2 separate regions of the Homo sapiens genome follow, and region 2 is linked to region 1. The links are contacts of gene promoters, found by promoter capture Hi-C in human tissues and cell types (Jung and others, 2019). All regions are on one chromosome and are shown on one strand. The core of a region is centred on a gene start or on the middle of the fragment in contact, and the rest is flanking DNA. Distances in the headings are between cores, read along the strand shown. Region 1 holds the start of BFSP2 (beaded filament structural protein 2). Region 2 has its middle 150 kb from the start of TMEM108.

The links. The method cuts DNA at HindIII sites, captures the fragments that hold promoters and counts their contacts. A contact is called where the count stands out against the background at its distance.
Region 2: a fragment that was not itself captured here is called in contact with the fragment with the promoter of BFSP2 in region 1 in 1 of the 25 tissues and cell types used here (aorta).

Annotation. Positions count from the first base shown.
Region 1 is chr3:133,397,573-133,402,401 of GRCh38, reverse strand. BFSP2 (beaded filament structural protein 2) reads right to left here and starts at 2,346. Exons shown (of 7, transcript NM_003571.4): 1 at 1,830-2,346. The coding sequence starts at 2,318. TMEM108 (transmembrane protein 108) reads right to left here. Exons shown (of 6, transcript NM_023943.4): 6 at 4,627-4,829. The HindIII fragment of the contact is 25,133 bases long and covers 1-4,829 here.
Region 2 is chr3:132,885,394-132,890,266 of GRCh38, reverse strand. No RefSeq gene overlaps it. Among named protein-coding and RNA genes, the nearest start is that of TMEM108, 150 kb to the left of the region's middle. The HindIII fragment of the contact is 3,209 bases long and covers 1,019-4,227 here.

The DNA of each region.
Region 1 (4,829 bases), core at 1,097-3,596:
CCAGGCTCTTATTTGTCTACAGATTTGCTGGAATATGTAAGCATTGTTATACCCATTTTGTAGATAATGAAACTGAGGCCCAGAGAAGTTAGTAAGTTGCAAAGGCTCTTGTAGCTATCTGGAGCCAGAACAAGTCAGTATCTATTGAGTATAAACTAAGTTTTGTGGCCCTACTTTTTAACCTAGCCATTGGGATACCTGATTTCTCCTGACAAGTCTGTGTGGCATCTGATTGCAAGCGATTGTCCAGCAGATGCTGACATATTGGAGTATCTAGGGATGTTCTGGTGGTTGTTATGGCACAATATTTGGAATAAGGACAGTTGTGAAGAATCCTGGAGGAATGGCTGCCTCTTAGATTTGACAGGCGTTAAGGCCCTGGACTGTTCTAAGATGGCTCTCCCTTGCAGCCCAGATGGATGCAAGCAGAACAGCAGCACCAGGGGGAGAGCCTGAGAGGATGGTGCTGTTCATCATGCACTCTGTGCTGTCAGTGGGCACTGACAGCAGTGCAGGAGAAGCATCCTGGGATGAAGTGGGAGGCAGGAGGGGCAAATGGGGAGTCCCTGTGTGCAACTGCTTAGCTTCCCCCAGCTATACACAAATAAAATTTTGTGACCTCCTCTTGGGAGGCTGCATACTGGACTCCAGGGGGCCAAGGGTCTGAGTTGGCAGTCCCTGGTGGGTTAGAGACTGATTTTGCTCAGAGGGATCCCAAGGCCAGCATCTGGAGAGAAAGAGGAGGAGGAGAGGTGAAGCCAGCTATCCACAGAGAGACCAGCTGAGAGGTGTAATGCTGGCTGGAGTCCCAGCATTAGAACTACAGGCTGCAGGCCAGACATGATGGATGTGCTCCAGACTCCGCAGAAATCACCCTGGAGAGTGGGAAAAGCAGGGCTGACCAAGCAAGGGAGAAAGATGAAACCTCTGCATCCTTCCCTGTCCAATAAGATAGCCATTAGCTACCTGTGGCTGTTTACATTTAAATTAATGAAAATTAGATAAAATAAAAATGCAATTCCTCAGTCTCATTAGCCACATTTCAAGTGCTTGATAGCCATATATGGCTAGTGGCTGCCAGATTGGACAGTGCAGATATAAGATATTAATATTTCCATCACGCAGAAAGCTCTACTTGAATGTAAATTACCTCATTAATATATTTTGTATTGATTACATGTTGAAATAACATTCTGGACATATAGAGTTAAATAAGCTATAATATTAACTTCACCTGCTTCTTTTTACGTGTTTTACTGTGGGTAATAGAAACTTGTCAATTACCAATGTAGTTCATATTTCTATTGAACAGCGTGGTTGTAGGTGGATACAGGAACACACCTCCATTTATTCATTGTTCTTAACACCTCATCCATCCAATGGTATTTGATTGGATAATAGCTGTAAAAATCCCTTCTCAACAGTAAAGGTGACTGAGGCAGCCCCAGGGTAATGGGGCAAATGCAACTTTGGAGGCACAAAAATTCAGGTTCAAATCTCATCTCCATCCCTCTACTAGCTTTGAAGTCTTGGGCAAATTACATGCCTCAGTTTCTCATCTGAAAAATGCAATCAGTGAATGATCCACTGCATAGCATTTCTTTGAAGTTTAAAGAAGACAGTGGGTAGTGCACGTATGGGGGCTAGCGTGGGCTCCTAGTAAACCTCGGTAAAAGGTAGCATTGTTGTTATCATTACCATTTTAAGTGTGAAAGTGTAGGGGATTATGGTCAGTTTCTCTGGCCTCAGCCTACTCACAACCCTACCCGCTGCCTTCAGCAGCCCCTCCCAGCCCTCTGCAAAGCCCTTGGCACAGCCTGGACACTTACCTGCTGGCAGCTGCTGGCCCAGGAAGCCCGTAGGGCACCCCAGTTTCCCGAGCGTGTGGCTTTGCTCTCCAGGTGCATCCGCAGTTGTGTTTCCAGCTCCTGACTGACTTGCTCAAGGGCGTGCACTTTGGCCATATATTCCACCAGGCAGCCCCCTAGGTCCTCAACAGCACCATGGTCCCTCTCCAAACCTGGAGCCGGCACGGTGGCCAGGCCTGAGCTCCGCAGGCCCTGAAGGAAGACACTGCTGATGCCGAGGGCCCGGCGGGTCACACGGGCACCCAAGCCACCTATGCACCCACTGGGTGCTGTTCCTACATAGACCCCGGGTGCTCGGACAAGGCCACTCATGGCATTGGTCCTGGAGGCTGGGGGGCTCTCCAGGGAGGATGATGACCGTGGCCCCCTGAAGGACGCCCTGCGCCTCTGGAGGGGCATGCTGGAGCTGGCACTGGTGGGCAAGTCCACTACCACTCGCCTCTCACTCATCACCCCTTCTGCCTCTGTGGTGCCCAGTGGGTTTACAGAGTCCAGTGGCTTTTGGTTTACAGCCCCAGCATCCCTGTGGCCTGGTCACGGGCCTCTCTGGAATCTCCCCTATCCCTGGGGCTGCTTTGTCTGCTGTCTTCCATGAGTTTCCATCATTCACTGAGCTGAAAGAGAAATGGGCACTGCCCAGGGCTGTGTGCAGAGAGGCACTCATGCATTCTTTGATGCAGGGTCATGTGCCCAACCTCCCAGATTATTCTGCTGGTGGTGGGGGAGGCTGGATCAGTGCAGGCTGTGGAGGTAGACCATTTGGGTTTGTGCATTTTACTACCTAAGTGGGCAAGGCAGGCATCAAGCAACCCCATTTTACAGATGAGTAAACTGAGGCTCAAGGACCTCAGATGACAAGTGTACTGATCACTTGCCCCAGACCTCAGATTACAAGCTAGGACTCAATCTAGCTATTTCAGGGCTTTCTACATCCCTATGTGTGCTGGCACATGTGAATGTGAACACATGTCCACACAGGCAATAGAGGATGAAAAATGGCAGGAGGCAGCTCCAGGGACCCAAGAGAAAAGACTTGCCTATGGTTTCCTCTCTCAGTCCTGGCAGCAGCTTCAGGTCCTTCCCTCACCTCTCTCCTTTCCTCCTCATCTCTGTCCTCTAATGCTCTGCTGTTCATCAGCTGCTTGCTGTTGGCCAGGATGCTTCCTCCCTCTGGACCTCACTGTCTGAACATTGGCTTGGGCCTTTAACTCTCTGATGCACCAGATAAGGACCTTGGGCAAATTCAGATCCCACACATGTTCCGGCCATTCCCTACACCTCTGCTTCTCCATCTGTTGGAAAACTGAGAAATAAAAACAACAACGAGGGTGTTTTCTGGTAAGCCTCTCCAAGGGTGCCCCAAGTTAGGATATGATGACACCCCTGGGTTTTAATTATTGACCTTGGCATCCACTAAGCCACCAAGGGTCACACCTCAATCACTTCTCTAGGATCAGAAAGGTTCCCCCAGTTACAGGATGACAACATGGACCTAAAAACCTCTGTACATAAGTTTTACCCTGGAGAAACCAGGTCACCAAACCCCAGAGCTGGATACTTTTCCAGATGCTGTAATGTAGGAATGTACCTCAGGTGAGAGAAGGAGAAGGGAGTCAATCTCTAGTGAGTAGCAGATCCAGCCTGGTGTGTGCATGAATCCTATGGTTTATTTCGTGGAATTCTCAACTCAACCTCAGGAGGAAGGAGGTCCAGGGTTGACAGGTACTGCCATATGGGCTGTGTACCTCACAGCTCTAAAATGACATGTCCTACAGTTGGCCACTGTCCTCTTATGTGAGGAGGACCCCGAGAGCTGCAATGACTTGCCCAAGGTTCTATGTCCAGAAAGTAGCAGAGCTGGGGGCAGACAACCTCTTCCAAACTCTGGGCCACTGACTTACTTAGGAGCCTCCCTGTTGCCCACCACCCAGAGAGCAGAGTACCTACCTGAGGTCACGCAGGTAGAGGTAAAAAACCTGGTCGCCTACTAGAGGACCCTGTGTGCACTTCCTTCCTACTGACCAGGACACTCCAACCCTTCCTTTCTTTATTGTCTTCCACTTTGTCTCTCTGAGATGGCCTGGGAGGTATTTTATAAATATCAGTGTTGGCTATTTGATGAACAGATGAAAGAACCAATTGGATTAAGTAAAGGCCAGTAGTGTCCTTGTTTATTCAGATGTAGCATTAATGCTGTGAACACCACCCCTGATGCACCCAGAAGGGGCATGCGAGCCTGTGTTACAGTAACAGCCTCCTATACGGATGACACTGACTTGGTTCTGAGGATCTGCATTATTGTGAATTCCAAGATGTATTGTCCAAGGCTGAATGAAAAGTTCAGGCTACTGATTAAGTTGTGCACAAATGTGTCATGTTTAGGCATTGTTATTCTCTACAGAATGGTAACACTCAATGGCCAGGTTAACTTCAGACTTCTCCGGACCAAAGATATTTACTATATAAATCCACTCAGCCCTGGAGACAGGGAGAAAGAGGGGGGGATGTACTTTGACACCACTGTCTCCAAAGACCTGATGAAAGATGAGTCTGTTTTGGAGAAACTGCAAACATGTTCAAAAAGATTTATTTTATCAAATGATAAACTGCTAATCCTATTAGCTCATCACATACATAAAACTCAACTTACTGTTAAATCAGATTAAAAAATACAGATGGATATAAAGTGGTGTTGGTACTGCTTAAGGAAGACTTAGAGCTTATCTTGAAAAGAATGCAAAATGTATTAGCAACAGAATCCTCTGGCTAATAAAATAAGTTTATTTATATATACATGGTAGCTGAAATCTGTGGATAAGGAAAAATAAGTCATACATCCACATATGTATATATAACATATGTATCTTTGATTACATATATTATATATAAATTTTACTTTACAAACAGATTTTTCTCTGTATACTTACACACATTGGTATATTAAATGTAACAGTTAACAGA
Region 2 (4,873 bases), core at 1,374-3,873, 510 kb after region 1:
AAGATCACGCCATTACACTCCAGCCTGGGTGACAGAGCGAGACTCCATCTCAAAATAATAGTAATAATAATAAAATTCATTGAATGTGCAAGGTAGACTAATGAATTTTAATGTAACTTTAATATATGAAATTGATATGGTTTCAGATTCCATATTGTAGCTAAACTTTAATAAACAATCACTTGTTGAGTTTCAGAATAGCAGCAAAAAAACAATTTTCACAGTTAAGAGCCTATTAACCCATTTATGCCTAGTGTTCCATTATTGGAACGCTAAGCATGTGGCAGTTATTTATATCCTACTGCTCAGGGTCATCACCAAGGTCTGATTTTTCATACATGTCTGCAATTCAAAAATTTGCAACCTCCAGCATAAATGGGTTAAGACCACTGCTCTCTCTTCCAATTACATATCTGGTTGAGGCCAGATTTTCCTTATACATTTCAACCAAATCAACATATTGCAACAGATTAAAGACAGAAGCAGAGATGAGAATCCAGCTGTCTTTTATTAAGTCACACATTAAAGAGATTAGCAAAGTTGGAAAACAATGCCACTCTCCTAATTAATTTTTGTCTTGGAAAATATAGTTATATTTTCATAATCATACACTCTTTGTGTTTACATATAATGGGTTTATTATGCTATGTTCCTTTTTTAAATTTATTTATTTTTTTTGAGACAGAGTCTCACTCTGTCACCCAGGCTGGAGTGCAGTGGCACTATCTCAGCTCACTGCAACCTCTGCCTACCGAATTCAAGTGGTTCTCCTGCCTCAGCCTCCCGAGTAGCTGGGATTACAGGTGCGTGCCACCACGCCTGGCTAATTTTTGTGTTTTTTAGTAAAGATGGGGTTTCACCATGTTGGTCAGGCTGGTTTCAAACTCCTGGCCTCAAGTGATCCGCCTGCCTCAGCCTCCCAAAGTGCTGGGATTATGGGTGTGAACCACCACACCCGGCCATATTATGTTATCTTTAAATGAATGGATAAATAAATGTTTTTAAAATGTCCTAGTTTTAATTTCTATTACAATAAATATTAATAGCTATAACCTACATAGCCAGAAGCTCTTGGGGGTCCTCAACAATGTTTAGAGTGTTATAGGGTCTGGAGATTTAAGTTTGAGAAGTGCTGTTAAACTAAAAGTTCTGTGTGGGCAGAGGCCGGGTCTGCCTTGTTTTGTTCACGGCTATTGTCTATGTGGCGGATATTTGAAAAATGGCTAACAGTATTTGCTGGAAAAAGCAATTAACTTACTGAGTGAATAAATGGGTGAATGAATGATACTTAAAATGGAACTTGCAAGGCAATACAGACAGAGGTAACAGTCTGACAAAAAAGACCAGCATCAATTAAGGATTTTAGGATAATAGCGAGCAATTAAATGTGTAGAGCAATGAGCACCATGGCAAAAACTTAGGCTACGAACTTAATCCTGAGTTCAACTCCTGGCTCTAACCCTTATTAGCAAAGTCACCTTGGACAAATTAACCATTCTGAGCAAATGAAAGCATTCTGACAAATGAAACCATTCAGTCCGTCAGCTGAGTGCACTAATGCAAGTTACGACTTTCTGTGCCTCCATTTTATTTTTTCTTTTCTTTTCTTTCCTTTTTTTTAAATTATATTTTAAGTTCTGGGATACATGTGCAGAACGTGTAGGTTTGTTACATAGATGTATATGTGCCATGGTGGTTTGCTGCACCCATCAACCCATCATCTACATTAGGTATTTCGCCTAACGGTGTCCCTCGCCTAGCCCCCCACCCCTGCCGACAAGCCCCGATGTGTGATGTTCCCATTCCTGTGTCCATATGTTCTCATTGTTCAACTCCCACTTGAACAATGCGGTGAGAACATGTGGTGCTTGGTTTTCTGTTCTTTTGTTAGTTTGCTGAGAATAAAGTGAAGATAATAACAGCACCTACCTCATAGTAGTAAAGTGCTTAGAGCTGTGCTGTCCAGCATGGCAGCCACAGCCACATGTGGCTACTGAGGCTTGAAATGTGGCTAGTGCAACATTAGAAACTAAAATTTTAACTCTTTTAATTGATTGAAAGTGAAATCTAAAATGTTAAATCCAAGGAATTTTTAACAATTTGGATGAGAATAGAAAAGGAAATGACTTTTTGTTACTTGATTCTTCCCAATATGTTTGTAACAACTTGGGTGTGTAATCTACTTTTTTTTTTACCGTGCATTTTTAAAAATATAAACACAGTATTTATTGTGTTGATTTCATTGGAATTCAAATATTTCCAGTGAAAGTTTAGCATCCAAATTGAGATATGTTATAGGTGTAAAATACACACCAATTTTAATGACTTAGTGCCAAAAAAAAGGGAAGAAAATGTGAAATATCTCATTAATGATTTTTTATGTTAATTACATGCTCCTTGACAAAATATTTTATTAAAATCAGCTTCACTTGTTTCTTTTTACTTTTTAATGTGGCTATGAAAAACGTAAAATTACATATGTGGCACACATATTTCTATAGAACAATACCTTAGCACATTGTAAGCACTATAAAAACAGCTAGCAATCATTGTTTTATTATTTGTACTATAGAGATAATATTTATCCTACAAAATCCTATAAGGATAAAATGAGATATTGTTTAAAGCTTTTAGTGCAGTGTGGGGCACATAATAAAAGCTCAGTAAATGGTACCTTTCATTGGTAACTAGAGAGGGCATCGTGTGTTCATAGGAGACTGCTGGTCGATGACAGAACTGGAAGGCTGAGTGGGGGTTGTATAATAAAGTTTTGAAAATCAGGCTGAGAAGTTGAGGCTTAATTATCTATGCAACTGAGAGCTAGTGAAGCACATGATCTGAGATGTGTTTTAGAAAGATAATTCTGACAGCATGTATCCTCACAGGGAGGATGTGAGTTTTGAAAACAGTTCTAAGCCATTTGGAGCAGTCTGCTGAGTAGGTTGGGTGATCATGCTGGGAAACGCTGTCTGGGGTCACAAACCAAGTCTTAGTTTGAGTGATGAGTCTGGTTTCATGGGAGCTCATAATCCAGCTTCATGGGTGATTCCGAAAGAGAAGTTTCACAGGCATTTTTGAAAACCAACCGACAGCATCACTGGCTTAAGTAAATTGCCTTCCGCTTTGACTATTCCAATGCGTATATTTTGGTGTATTTATACAAACAAGCAAATAAATGTCTCATTACATTTTAGTTTATTTGTGTACTCTAGATAAAAGGCTCTTTTGTTATAGTTTTGGTAAGAAAAGTCTCCTGATCTCAAACACCCTAATGAGTGCTTTAAGTTCCTTTTTTTAAAAAATTATTATTATTATGGATATCTATTAGTTGTACATATTTATGGGGTACATGTGATATTTTGATACAAACATACAATGCATAATGGTCAAATCAAGGTAATTGGGGTATCCACCACCTCAAGAATGTATCATTTCTGTGTGATAGAAACATTCCAATTTCACTCATTTAGTTATTTTGAAATATACAATAAATTGTTTTTAACTATAGTTACCCCATTATACTATCAAACACTAGATCTTATTCCTTCTATAACTGTATTTTTGTGCCCATTAACCATGCCCTCATTATCCCCCTCTTCCCACTGCCCTTCCTAACCTCTGGTAACCATTATTCTACTCTCTATGAGTTCAATGTATTTTTTAGTTCCCACATATGAGTGAGAATATGTGATATATGTCTTTTGGTGCCTGGCTTATTTCACTTAACATAATGTCCTCCAGTTCCATGAATGTTGTTGTAAATGACAAGCTTTCACTCTTTCTATGGCCGAATAATATTTCATATATATATATATACATAACACACACCCACACACACACACACACCACATTTTCTTTATCCATTCTTCTGTTGATGGACACTTAGATTGATTCCAAATCTTGGCTATTGTGAATAGTGCTGCAATAAACGTGGGAGTGTAGATATCTCTTCAATATACTGATTTTATTTCGGGGGGTTTATACCTAGCAATGGGATTGCTGGATCACATGGTAGTTCTATTTTTAGTTTTTTAGAGAACATCCAAACGGTTCTCCACAGTGGCTTACATTCCAACCAACAGTGTATGAGGGTTCCCCTTTCCCCACATCCTTGCCAGCATTCATTATTGCCTGCCTTTTGGATACAAGCCATTTTAACTATGGTGAGATGATATCTCATAGTGGCTTTGGTTTGCATTTCTCTGATGATTAGTGATGTTGATAACTTTTTCATATCCTTATTGGCCATTTGTATGTCTTCTTTTGAGAAACGTCTGTTCAAATCTTTTGCCTTTTTTTGCCCAGGCTGGAGTGCAGTGGTGCGATCTCGGCTCACTGCAAGCTCTGCCTCCCGGGTTCACGCCATTCTCCTGCCTCAGCCTCCCGAGTAGCTGGGACTACAGGTGCCCACCACCACGCCCAGCTAATTTTTTGTATTTTTAGTAGAGACGGGGTTTCATCATGTTAGCCAGGATGGTCTCAATCTCCCGACCTCGTGATCCACCCGCCTCATTTTCCCAAAGTGTCTTTTGCCCATTTTTTGGACTGGATTATTTGTTTTTTCCTCTTGTTTGAGCTGCTTATATATTCTGATTATTAATCCCCTATCAGACGGGTAGGTTATAAATATTTTCTCTCATTCTGTGGGTTCTCTCTTCACTTTGTTTCCTTTGCTGTGCAGAAGCTTTTTAACTTGATGTGATCCCATTTGTCCATTTTTGCTTTGGTTGCCTGTGCTTGTGGGTCATTACTCAAGAAATTTTTGCCAAGTCCAATGTTCCAGAGAGTTTCTCCAATGTTCTCTTGTAGTAGTTTCATAGTTTAAGGTCTTAGATTTAAGTCTCTAATCCATCTGTATTTGATTTCTGTAAAT